Regions from separate parts of the Homo sapiens genome. Here region 2 is linked to region 1. Evidence: promoter capture Hi-C in 16 types of primary human blood cells and fetal thymus (Javierre and others, 2016). All regions are on one chromosome and are shown on one strand. The core of a region is centred on a gene start or on the middle of the fragment in contact, and the rest is flanking DNA. Distances in the headings are between cores, read along the strand shown.

Region 1 (6,520 bases), core at 2,939-5,438:
TGGGGGCCCAAGTTAGGCAAGCAGAAGGAAGAGCCCAGGGCAGCTCCTGCATGGGTCCAGCTCCCTAGGTGGTGTGAAGCTTGGTGAGCAAGGGGCTAAGGAAGCCGCTGGGGCAGAGCCACATGAGCTCTGGCCGAGGGAGAGGTGAGGATGGCAAAGCAGGCAGGAAAGGGTGGAGGGCCCAGCAGGTTAGGCAAGGAGTTCAGACAGTCGAGGGATGATGGAAAGCCAATGGGGGCAACTTTGCTTTGGGATCCAACAATGACTGTTGGTACCCAGCTCTGCTATTTACTAGGTGAGGGACCAAAGACAAGTTACGTTCTCTGAGCCAATTTCCTCATCTGCAAAATGAGAATAATAATTGTACCTTCTTTGGTGGTGAGAGCTCAGTGTAATGATGTATGTAAAAGGCTCTGCATGTCCTCTGGAATCAGCAAATGGTAGCCATATATAAATAAATGCAGATTCTGGATCCAGCCCCCAAAGTAAGGAAAGACTGGTCCTTAGGTGCCCTTGCTGGAAAAAGTGGGATGGAAAAAGTGTGATGGAAAAAGTGTGATTCTTTTGTTTTTTGTAGAGTCTCACTCTGTCACCTAGGATGGAATGCAGTGGCGCGATGTCAGCTCACTGCAACCTCCACCTCCCAGGTTCCAGCAATTCTCCTGTCTCAGCCTCCTGAGTAGCTGGAACTATAGGCGCACGCTGTCACGCCTAGCTAATTTCTTTTGTATTTTAGTAGAGACGGGGTTTCACTGTGTTGCCCAGGCTGGTCTCGAACTCCTGAGCTCAGGCAATCCGCCCGCCTCAGCCTCCCAAAGTCCTAGGATTACAGGTGTGAACCACCATGCCTGGCCATGATTCTTGATAAAGTGGCTTTGTAGGATTCTTGGCTAAAACTCGGCTCACCAGGCCAAGACAAGGCATAGTTGAAAGGAGGATGCAAAGGAGCCTGACTCCACTTTAGTCTAGGAGGGACGCTTGTCAGCTGTTCTATCCTTAGCATCCAGAAGTGAGTAGCACGCAGTGGGCCTTTGGTCAATCACTGGTAAATTGGTAAATGAATGCACCATCCTGAGAAATTTTCTTAAAAAAAAAGGCCCTAATTGAATGAGAGAGATACATTTTCCTCCCTTAGCTTTCCAATTCCTGGAGTTAATAAATAGAAACATATGTTTTTCCTAGAAAATAATACATTTGTTAAAACAGATTCAACCTACTTTCATTTTCTATGTCAGCAAATAGTGAGGAAATAATGTTTTTAGTGTTCTAGGTGATGTACTTTTCTAACATGCTTTTTATTTGTATGAAATAAAAACAGGATTATTTGGAAACAAATAGCTATCCAAAGGCACATAAAATATGTCTCTCATACTTTCCGTATCAGTTTCTGGTGGCAGATGTCAACCTAAGCAGTACATTAGAACCACTTGGGGGCTTTAAAAAATCCGAATGCCAGGACCACACTTAGGGCAATTAATTCAGAATCTCTGAAGCTGGGACCCAGGTACCTTCACTTTGCTTTTTTTTTTTTTTGGTATTTATTTCATTCTATTTTCTGTATAACTTTAAGTACATAAAGATTTATTTCCACAGGATCAGGAAATGGGTAGAAATCACAGGACAATCTCTCTTCCCACCAAAAAAGTTGCGTATTTTGGTAAGTGTTTGTCCTAGAGGGAAAAAACTGAAATTTACATTAGCAGTGCTGTGCAAGATTCTTACATAAATCAAGACCTAAAAGCAGCTTGCAGTGGAGGTTTTGGTCCCCTGTTCAGGTGCTTGGACAGAAGCCATAAGCTGGTGAGTGTGACAGGGAAAAGGAGGCAGTGAAGACAGGTGACAGGCACCTAGCAGGGAAGGAGGATTCAGGAATACCAGACTCCTTGGAATGGAGTGTTGTTTTTCCTTTTTTTTTTTTTCATCTCTGTAGGAAGGTGCTGGGCAGGGATCCCAGAGAAAGAAAGGGTTGAATACTCCTTTAACTGCCCTGGATGAAGGGCACTGCTACAGCAGCTAGTACCGGAGACTCTCCTATCTCATGGTTGAGGCAGACCCAGGATAGAATAGTGAATAAAAGGAATGCTTATAGGAAACAATTTTGCGTGGAATGCTAGATGGCCAAGCCTCAGCCTTTGGTCCAGTGCAATCCTTGCCTCACTTGTCAATAGTGAAAAATTAGTTTGGTTAGAAGAACCATCTGGAAACACACCAGCTTCTGCTACCTTCATGCTCATTGTCAGAAAAAGATTAACCAGTGTGAACGTTCTGATCTGTTAATTCCTGGGACTGTTTTCTTCCCAGTGGACTGTTTGTTGGTAGAATAACCCCCAAAGCTCAAAGCTAAAATGCATCATTAGTCCTCGTCGGCAGTTGAGCTGATTTGGAAAAGCTGCACCTTCCTGCAGAAGATCAACTGACCTGCTATCCCACTGCACATCTGAGGTATATTTCAGTGAAGGCAGGTAGCTGTGCTTTTCAGAGCAGAGAAGCAGTTTTAAGAGCAGAAAGGTAGAGGAAATCTAGAAAAGAACCGTCTTGATACAGATTTATCCCATGGTGTGAAGGGAGGGCAAAGAACCCAGTGGCACTTCGCTTATCCAGCAATTTCTGTCACTGTGGCGACAAACTTCTGCCCATTCCAGAGGGTCTTGAACTGCTCAGGAACTGGGAATTCATTAAAGTCACCGCCTTCTGTAGGAATGAGGACATTCATCTCAGAAGATTTGGCACTGGCTATTTCACAATCCAGGGAATTCTTGCTCAGGTAAGCATGGCAGCCATCTGTTTTGTTGATGGAAATGGTTGGCACTTTACTCATCACCTGAACTTTGACATCCCTACTGTTGATTATCTCCACAATGCCCACCATATCATCGAATACCAGACCAAGTTTCTTACAATTATCTACTGTAATGGAGTTAATTTTGCCCTTGATTTGCAACATCGTGTTGACACACTTGTATATGTAAGCCGCCTGTTTCAGCTCTGTGTCATCAATCACCAGATTGGAAACATTTTCCTGATTTTCCACTCTCCACTTCTTGCCCTCCAGTTCAAGTACAGCTGGCTCCTTCTTTGTGGCTGGTTTGGGGTTTAGGTGCAGAGAATGGCTTGGGGCCACTGCGTACTGGACCACTCTGAGCCTTCAGGGTAGGGTTCTTGTGAGTCTTCATGTCATCAGATACACGTTTCAGGGCATGTGTGATGCTCTCCCCCTGATTAATCTGCGCAAACAGTGCTGAGAGGGAAGCGGACTCATCTGAGCCTGAACTGACAGAGACTAGTGGAGGAGGGGGGCCTGGTGGTGGGGGAGGAGTAGCTGATCCAGCAGAGGGTCCAGATGGCAGTCCACTCAGTTCTTTTGTCACAGGCCCCGTTTTGCTCCAGGCAGTCCGGTGGTATGGAACTCCTTAATGTAAGCCTGCAGCTCTGTGCATATACTTAAATAAGCTTTGACTCAGTCTACATGCTTCTTATCCACATCTTTGTACTCTTTAAGGACTCAGTTTGTATAAAACACAGCAGCATGATTCATTTCTTTCACATAAGGGCCAGGATTGGGAGCCATAGCCACCCAGCCTAGGGCCTGGATACTTTCACTGACAGCTGACAGCTGATTAAACAACTTGCTGCCTCGGTTCTTCTCCCAAAAGGTTATCACTTCTTTGATCTGCTCTGAGATAGGTGCCAACAGATCGGAAAGCTTATTACCTGCCGGCTATTGACACTGAGAAGCTGTAACCAAGAGAGCTCACTCCAACTTCAAAACTGTGTGTACCATCTCCACATCTTTCTGCACGTCTTCCCCAATCTCTTTACTGATCTTCAAGTACTCTGCCACAGGGCAGGCAAGCAGCGAGTCAAATGCCTGCGCATATGGAGCTGCTCCTGCTTTTGAAGGACTATCTCCATATCCACGGTGCATGTCAGAGGTATGGGATACTGCCTCCAGGCGGCCCACTGCCCTGTCCAATTTTTTACCAGATTTTGCATGTCAGTCATAATGTATCACCTCCCGACTGCGATCAGCCGCTCTCCACTTCCCGCACCTTCACTTTTCAAAGATTCCCAGGTGATGCCAACCTGCTCTGCGGATGGAGCCCCTAAGACCCCAAGCGGCCCAGACTACGTTTCCCAGAGGCCTCCGCGGCCTCAGCCACTTCCGCTTCCGGTCCAGCCTGTCTCCGCGTGGTGCGAGCGCTGCACCAGCCCCTGGCTGGTGGTTACTGTCCGAACGGCGTGGTGTGGTCGCTGACTCTCTGGGCGTGCAGCTCCGCAGCCCTGCCGGCTCGGTTCGGTTCGTGAGCGGCCGGGGTCAGGCTGGGTCCCTGAAGCCTCGAGCCCCTGGCGGGTGCTCCCCGCCTTTCCCAGGGGCGGGTCGAGGGGCGAGCCGGGGTGGGAGGGGAAGGCGGCGGTGGGCAGTGCCCACCCGCAGTGGCTGCGCCGTGTGGAGCGACCGCTCGAGGCTGGTGCATCACAGAGCGCTCCAGCCTTGCGCCCCGGCCGACAGATTGGGCCACTGACAAGGCCGTCCCCCGGTGCTGCCAAAAGTGTTTGGCGTGGAGCTGGCTGCAGTCCAGGCCGGATCCCAGCAGCCGTTCCCTTTCCTTTCTTCCCGAGCGTACCCACCTGGACCTGTCTGCCCACCTGTGGAGGGAACGGGCGGGCGGGGACCTGGTCTAGAGGGCAGATTCTAGCTAGGCTAGGGCACGGAGGGACTTCCTCAATTTCCTCTCTTCTTTCCCAGATTGACTTACGCAGGATTCTCAGCCCTTGCCTGGGAGAACAGTTCAGGAGACAGATGGCCCCAAGAGCCCAGATCCAGGCAAGTTTGATTTTTCCATTTCTTGAGAAACCACGTGTTTCAGCGAGGTGGGGTTTATGCCTCTTGCCCGGACAATGCCCTGCCCTGTGTGTGGACAAAGCTACCCGAACCAATCCTGGATGGGTCCCGCGATTTCCGTCCTGTCTACCCATTACGTAGTCATTCACCAAGTAGATTATTGCTACCCATGTTTTCTAGAGTGCTAGAAACAGAAAAGTGCTTTGCAAACTGGCAGACGATGAAAAAAATACACGTTAGCATGTAAAGACGTAGGCCATAAAGACATAGGGTGATAGCAGTGCTCTCTTGACCTTTAGTGTGTGGTAGGGTGGGAGGGGTGGAGTAGTGGGCGCCTTAGTTCTTCCTGAAGAATAAATGAGATTTGCATAATTGCAGAGGATACTAGGGGAAAGCGCTGCCTGAATGAAGTCATTATGGCGGGACCATGAACAAACTGGTCTGAGAAAGTTGGAAACATTCATGGTCTAGAATCCCAGACTGGAGTTTGCTTTTATCCTGGAGAAAACTAGGTTTTGAAGGATTTTGAGAAGCTGATTAAATAATTGGTATTTTGAAAGGAAGTGATAAACATTTGAGTGTCTATTATACAAATAAAATTAAAAAAATTAAAGATCACCTACATTTCTACTGCTCTAAGTCAAGTAATTTCATTTGAAACACACTTTTCATTTTTTTAAGGCTTACTCATTTTTTCTTTTAGTATTTCATAGCCATTCCAATTTGTTCTAGTTTCATTACCACTTTTTGTGGCTTCCTTTTATACTGTGCCTTCAACCAGCCCTGGGACCTTGAGCAAGTTCTTCCAACTCTCTGAACCTTTGTGTCTTTAGCTACGAAATAGATTTTACTTTATATAGTTACGGCAGAAATTTAGAGAGATGATATGTATCTCAGGGTTTAGCACCGTGGCTGGTACATAGTAAGTTGTTACTCTTATGAAAAGCAATTTTTTTTTCTTTTTTAAAAATATTCTGCCCCAGAGTCAGATCATACTCCCTGTAAATTCTCGGATAAAGCTAATCACTTTCCATGTCTTTTCAAAGTTTCTATTCATTTGTTGATTGAATAAAGCTTGAACACTTCTGTGTCAGGCAGTGTTTTTGACTGGGAGGCAGCAGTGACCCACACTGTCCCCCTGGAGCTCACATTAGAGAGGATGCTGACAGTCAGTGCAAACCTCTCCTGCCAGGTGGTGAGAAATCCTGTGAAGAAAAGTGAAATGGGTTTCGAGACTGAGTGGCAGAGGATGGGGTGGAGAAATAGAAGACCTTTTTGATGAGGTGACATGAAGGGTGGAGTGAGCAGAGGCTAGGCCTGGAGGAGGGAGCAGGACAGGCATGCAGGAAGAACCTGCTCAAGGGAGGAGTCGCACATCCCCTGAGCCCTCAGCTTTTACTTGTTGGTTTCCATGAGCACTGTTGGAACTGTCAGAAGCTGGCTTTGACCACCTTGCTTCCTTCTCTTGGGATGCCTCCCTCAGGGGTTCCCGGATGAGCAGAATTGGGTTTGGTTTTGCAGGGACCGCTGACATTTGGGGATGTGGCTGTGGCCTTTACCCGGATTGAGTGGAGACACCTGGATGCTGCTCAGCGGGCCCTGTACAGGGATGTGATGCTGGAGAACTATGGGAATCTGGTGTCTGTGGGTGAGGATGGCTTTCTCCTTGACTCAGGA
Region 2 (5,972 bases), core at 2,779-5,278, 1.1 Mb before region 1:
GGTAAAAGTAACTACTGTAAGTAAATGCAAAAGCCAGTCTTATTGTATTCTTGGCTTTTATGTTCTCTCTTTTTTCTATATGATTTAAAAGACAAATACATAAAACAATAATTATAAATCTATGGTAATGTGCACGCTATTTATGAAGGCATAAAATGAGACAATAAGAAGACAAAGGACAGGGACAAAGCCGTATAGGAGGAGAGTTTTTATATAATATTAAGGCTTAGTTAGTATTAATGCAAGCTAGATTGTTATAAATTCAAGATGCTAATTGCAATTCCAAGTATTAACACTAGGTAAATAATGACTACAAACAAATACAAAAGGAATTAAAATGGCACATTAGAAAAAAACAAACACAAAAGAAGGCATACACAGAAAAACTGAAAACAAAAAAGATGTAATACGTATGGAAAACAAATAGCAAAATGGTATAAGTCCTTTATCAGTTTATAATTTACTCTAAATGTAAATAAACTAAACTCCCAACTAAAAGACAGAAATTGGCAAAATAGGCTGGGCATGGTGGCTTACACCTGTAATCCCAGCACTTTGGGAGGCTGAGGTGGGCGGATCACGAGGTCAGGAGTTTGAGACCAGCCTGACCAATACAGTGAAACCCCATCTCTACTAAAAAAAAAAAAAAAATACAAAAATTAGCCAGGTGTAGTGGTGTACACCTGTAATCCCAGCTACTCGGGAGGCTGAGGCAGAAGAACTGCTTGAACGCTGGAGGCAGAGGTTGCAGAGAGTCAAGATCGCACCACTGCACTCCAGCCTGGGTGATGCAGTAAGACTCTGTCTCAAAAAAAAAATAAAATAAAATAAATAATAAAAATAAAAATAAATTGGCAAAATAAATAAAAATATATGATCCAGGTATATATTGTCTACAAGACACTCTCTTTAGATACAAACACACAACACAATAGGTTGAAATTGAAATGACAGAAGAGGATAGTAACCTAAAGAATGCCAGGGTGGCTATACTGAGACAAAAGAGACTTTAAATCAAAAATTGTTACAAGAGAAAAACACTACATATTGATTAAAAAAAAAAAAAAACTAAGTCTACAAAGAAGACATAGTAACAGAAATAGAAATAAATCATCCTGAAGTTTACATAGAATTTCAAGGGATCTCAACTAGCCAAAATAATCTTGAAAACCCATGCATGTATGGTAAAATGATTTTCAACAAAGTTGTCAAGAACAGTCAATAGGGAAAGGACAATTTTTCTAACAAATAGTGTTGGTAAAACTGGATAGCCACATGCAAAACAAAACAAAAACAAAAAAATTAACTCAAAATGAATCAAAGACCTAAATCTAAGAACTAAAGGTACAAAACTCATGGCAGAACACATAGGAGAATGGATTCGTGTGGCAATGTTTTCTTGGATATAATACCAAAAACCACAGGCAACAGAAATAAAAATAAATTGGACCACATCAAACTTAAAAATTGTGCATCAAAGGACACAGTTAACTGAATGAAAAGACAACCAACACAACAGGAGGAAATATTTGCAATTCATGTATCTGATGAGGAATTAATATAAAAAATATATAAAGAACCCCTACAACTCAAAACAAACAAAATAACCTGATTCAAAGATGGACAAAGGATTTGAACAGACATTTCTCCATTAAAGATATATAAATGGTCAGCAAGCTTATGAAAATATGCTCAACATCACTGATCATTAGGGAAATACAAATCAAAACCACAGTGAAAAATTACCATACACCCATTACAATGGCTGCTATCAAAACAACAAAAGAAAATAACGAGTGTTGGCAAGGATATGGAGAAATCAGAATCCTGTACACTGAGGATGGGACTGTAAAATGGTGCACCTTCTGTAGAAAACAGGTCGGTGTTTCCTCAAGGAATTAAAAATAGAATTACCATAGGTTCCAGCCATACCACTTCTGAGTATATAACCAAAAGAACTGAAAGAAGGATCTCAAAGAATAGTTGTACCCCATGTTCACAGTAGCATTATTCACAACAGTTAAAAGGAGGAAGGAACCCAAATGTCCACTGACAGATGAATGAATAAACAAAACATGGGTACAATGAAATATCATTCAACATCAGAAAGGAGATAAATTCTGACACATGCTACAACACTGAGGAAGCTTGAGGACATTACGCTAGGTGAAATAAGCCAGTCACAATAAGACAAATACTGTATGATTTCACTTATATGAGATATAGCAAAAATAGTGAAACTCATAGAAACAGAAAGTAGGATGGTGGTTGCCAGGGGCAAGGAGGAGGGGAAAATGGGGAGTTATTGTTTAATGGGTAGAGAATTTCAATTTCCCAAGATGAAAAAATTCTGGTGATTAGATGTACAATATGAATATACTTAACACTGCTTCTGAACTGTACATCCAAAAATAGTTAAGATTGCTAAAGCAAAAAACTAACAATAAATAAAGATGCCTGCTTTGGCCACATATATTCAACATTGTACTAAAAATTTCAGCCAGAGGAATTAGGCTAAGTAAATAAATAAATAAACCCAAATTAGAAAGAAAGAAATGAAATAGTTTTGTTTGCAGATGACATGATCTTATATGCAGAAAATACTAAAGAATCCACAAAGAAACTACTAGAAGTAGGAAACAAATTCAGCAAAATTACAAGATACAAGATCAACACTCAAAAATTATTTGTGTACTCATTACAATGAGCAGTCAAAAAGCAAATTAACAATTCCACTTACAATAGCATTTAAACAAAAGAAATTTTAGGCTTGTGGGCCATCACAGTCTCTACTGCAACCAGTCAACTCTGCCCTCGTAGTGTGAAAGTACTCACAGGCTATACATAAATACATGAGTATGGCTGAGTCCCGATAAAACTTTATAGACACTGAAGTCTGAATTTCATATAATTTACGATAGCATTTAAATGAAAAACTATTTAATAAATTTAAGCAAGGATATGCAACACTTGTACACTGAAAACTACAAAATATTAATGAAGGAAAGAAGACCTAGGGAAAAAAAATCTTATGTTCATTGATTATAAGATTTAATATTAAGATAACACTCCCCAAAGTGTTATCACCCACTCTAATACTTACCCAATCCAATACTTATCAAAAACTCAACATACTTTTTTGCAGAAATAGAAAAGCTAACTAAAAATTCCTATGGATTGCAAAGCACCCTGCTGTGGAAAACTGTCGGTTTCACAATAAATTAAATGTAAAATTACCATATCACCCAGCAATTTCACTTGTACGTATATACCCAAAACAATTGAAAGCATGTATTCAAACAAATATTTGTACATGAATGCTCATAGGAGCACTCTCCACAATAGCGAAACACAGGATGACCCCCAATGTCCATCAACAGATGAATGGATAAACAAAAGGTGATATATCCATATAATAGAATATTGTTCAGTCATAAAAAGGGACAAAGTACTGATATACAACTACAACATAAATGGGTCTTGAAAACATTATTCTAAGTGAGAGATCAGACACAAATTGTATGATTCCATTCATATGCCATATCCAAAATAGGCAAATCTATAAAGACAGAAAGGAGATTATTGGTTGTTAGGGGCTGGGAGCACAGCGGGGAAAAGGGAGCAACTGCTTATTAAGTTACAATACTGCTTATTAAGGGTGATGTGTTTCCTTTTGGTGTGATGAAAATATTCCAGAAATAAATGGTGGTTATGGTTGTACAACATTGTGAATGTACTAAAGTCACTGAATTCTATACTTTAAAATGGCTTGTGAATTTCATGTGATGTGTGTTTTACCACAATTTTTTTTTTAGGTAGAATCCCTCGAAAGTTATTGCAAATATTCCAGTTCTGCCCAGTCTCTAAGGCTGTCACAAAGCCTGCCACATCCTAACAACCCATGATCACCCTAGCCTACCAGGACTGTTTCTTTAAACAACCATGAGTCCTAATGCTACACAATTCATTGGATTTTTTTTTTTTTTTTTTTTTTTCCTGAGACGGAGTCTCACTCTGTTGCCCAGGCTGGAGCGCAGTGGCACAATCTCGGCTCACTGCAACCTCCACCTCCTGGGTTCAAGTGATACTCCTGCCTCAGCCTCCTGACTAGCTGGGATTACAGGCACGCACCACCATGCCCAGCTAATTTTTGTAATTTTAGTAGAGACAGGGTTTCACCATGTTGGTCAGGCTGGTCTCGAACTCCTGACCTCATGATCCACCCGCCTTAGCCTTCCAAAGTGCTGGGATTACAGGCGTGAGCCAATGTGCCCGGCCTATTTGAATTTTTTAATCATATACTTTCTTTTGCTATCTGTTAAGTTTTCCCCTGGACTGCACATGAATTACTCACTTTGTTGTACTACTTTTTTAAGTACCTGCAAGACTGTCATCAGAAGTTTCACAATGTCACCTAATAAAGCCCACCGACAAACTGTTTTATGTTCCAGTTTCACAACTGTAAGATCACAAGATCTGCATTCACCTATATGACATTTTTGTCTTACTCTTCATCAACTCTCTATCAGAAATCAGCAAACATTTTCTGTAAAGAGTCACACAGTAAATATTTTAGGCTTGTAGGCCATTACAGTCTCTGCTGCAACCAGTCAACTCTGCCTTTGTAGTGTGAAAGTACCAACAGGCAATACATAAATACATGAGTATAGCTGAGTCCCAATAAAAATTCATAGACAATGAAGTCTGAATTTCATACAATTTCCAAGCAAAATAATACTCTTGGTTTTTTTCCCTCAGCCACCTAAAAGTATAAAAACCATCCTTCATTTGTGGACCATAAAAAAACAGACAGTAGGCTGCATTTGACCCATGAACTGTAATGTGACCTCTCCTCTATATTTTCCAGGATGTTATTTCTACTTTCATATGAATGTATAGACATTTTTTAAACCTCAATAATTAGTTTTAAGCAAAACTGTGAAAAAATAAACAACTTACCTGGGATGTGATCATATTCCACTAGTGTTGGCAGAGCAGAGAAAACCGAGAGGGTGTAGCTTACAAACAAGAAAAGAACATGAGAAATGTCACTTGCCTAAAAATGTCCACCTCCCAGCTGGCAAAACATCTCTAAAAGGGAGATACTCACACGTCCATGCATGACTCTGGCATGGTTATGTACTGCTTGGACACATTAGTTTTCAAATGTGAAAACGTTTGGTTTTCTACTGACTTATAAACAACTTATGCTGTACTCTAACAGAGTATGCAAACCAATATATTAAACTAATTAAGCAAGTTAGGAAAAGCCAAAGAATGGAACATAATACTTTCATTAAAACTGATGCTAAACAAAAATATTCAGGTTTTAATCTTTATTATAAACCAGAGAATCCCAACAAGGTTTTGAAAAAAGTGATGTGGTATTTTTCAGCCCAGTTTTTTTTTGTTTGCTTTTTTGAGACAGAGTCCTGCCCTGTCACCCAGGCTGGAGTGCAATGGCACAGTCTTGGCTCACTGTAACCTCTGCCTCCTGGGTTCAGGTGATTCTCCTGCCTCAGCCTCCCAAGTAGCTGGGACTACAGGTGCGCACCACCACGTCGGGCTAATTTTTTGTATTTTTAGTAAAGACGGGGTTTCACCATGTTGGTCAGGCTGGTCTCGAACTCCTGACCTCGTGATCTGCCGGCCTCAGCCTCCCAAAGTGCTGTGATTACAGGCGTGAGCCACTGCGCCCGGCAGAGCCCAGTTTTTTTGGAAGGAAAACGAACTTGCTCTAACTTGGTTTCAGGTTCTCAAAACCATCTTTGGATTTTAAAAAGCAAACGGATTTTTTCTTACTCTGTTGTCAATGCAGCAAACACCTGCCTGAGTCCTCAAGCGACTCAGTGTCTGTTCTTGACTCTGCCACAACAAAATGTGTCAATGTCAACAGTCACTTAACATGTTAAGCTTGTTTCCTGTCCACCCCACCCCATCCCATCTTTTAAATAAAGCCGAAATAGATAACT

What was found. Contacts are between HindIII fragments. The CHiCAGO score rates a contact against its expected background, and 5 or more counts as called.
Region 2: a fragment that was not itself captured here is called in contact with the fragment with the promoter of ZNF485 in region 1 in 1 of 17 cell types (non-activated CD4 T cells); the score reaches 5.6 in non-activated CD4 T cells.

The regions. Positions count from the first base shown.
Region 1 is chr10:43,602,250-43,608,769 of GRCh38, forward strand. ZNF485 (zinc finger protein 485) reads left to right here and starts at 4,189. Exons shown (of 5, transcript NM_145312.4): 1 at 4,189-4,297; 2 at 4,748-4,825; 3 at 6,365-6,491. The coding sequence starts at 4,802. It also overlaps the pseudogene CAP1P2. RefSeq lists an enhancer at 3,895-3,944 and a silencer at 4,225-4,504. The HindIII fragment of the contact is 2,214 bases long and covers 3,702-5,915 here.
Region 2 is chr10:42,545,598-42,551,569 of GRCh38, forward strand. It overlaps the pseudogene ZNF37BP. Among named protein-coding and RNA genes, the nearest start is that of LINC00839, 73 kb to the left of the region's middle. The HindIII fragment of the contact is 3,766 bases long and covers 2,146-5,911 here.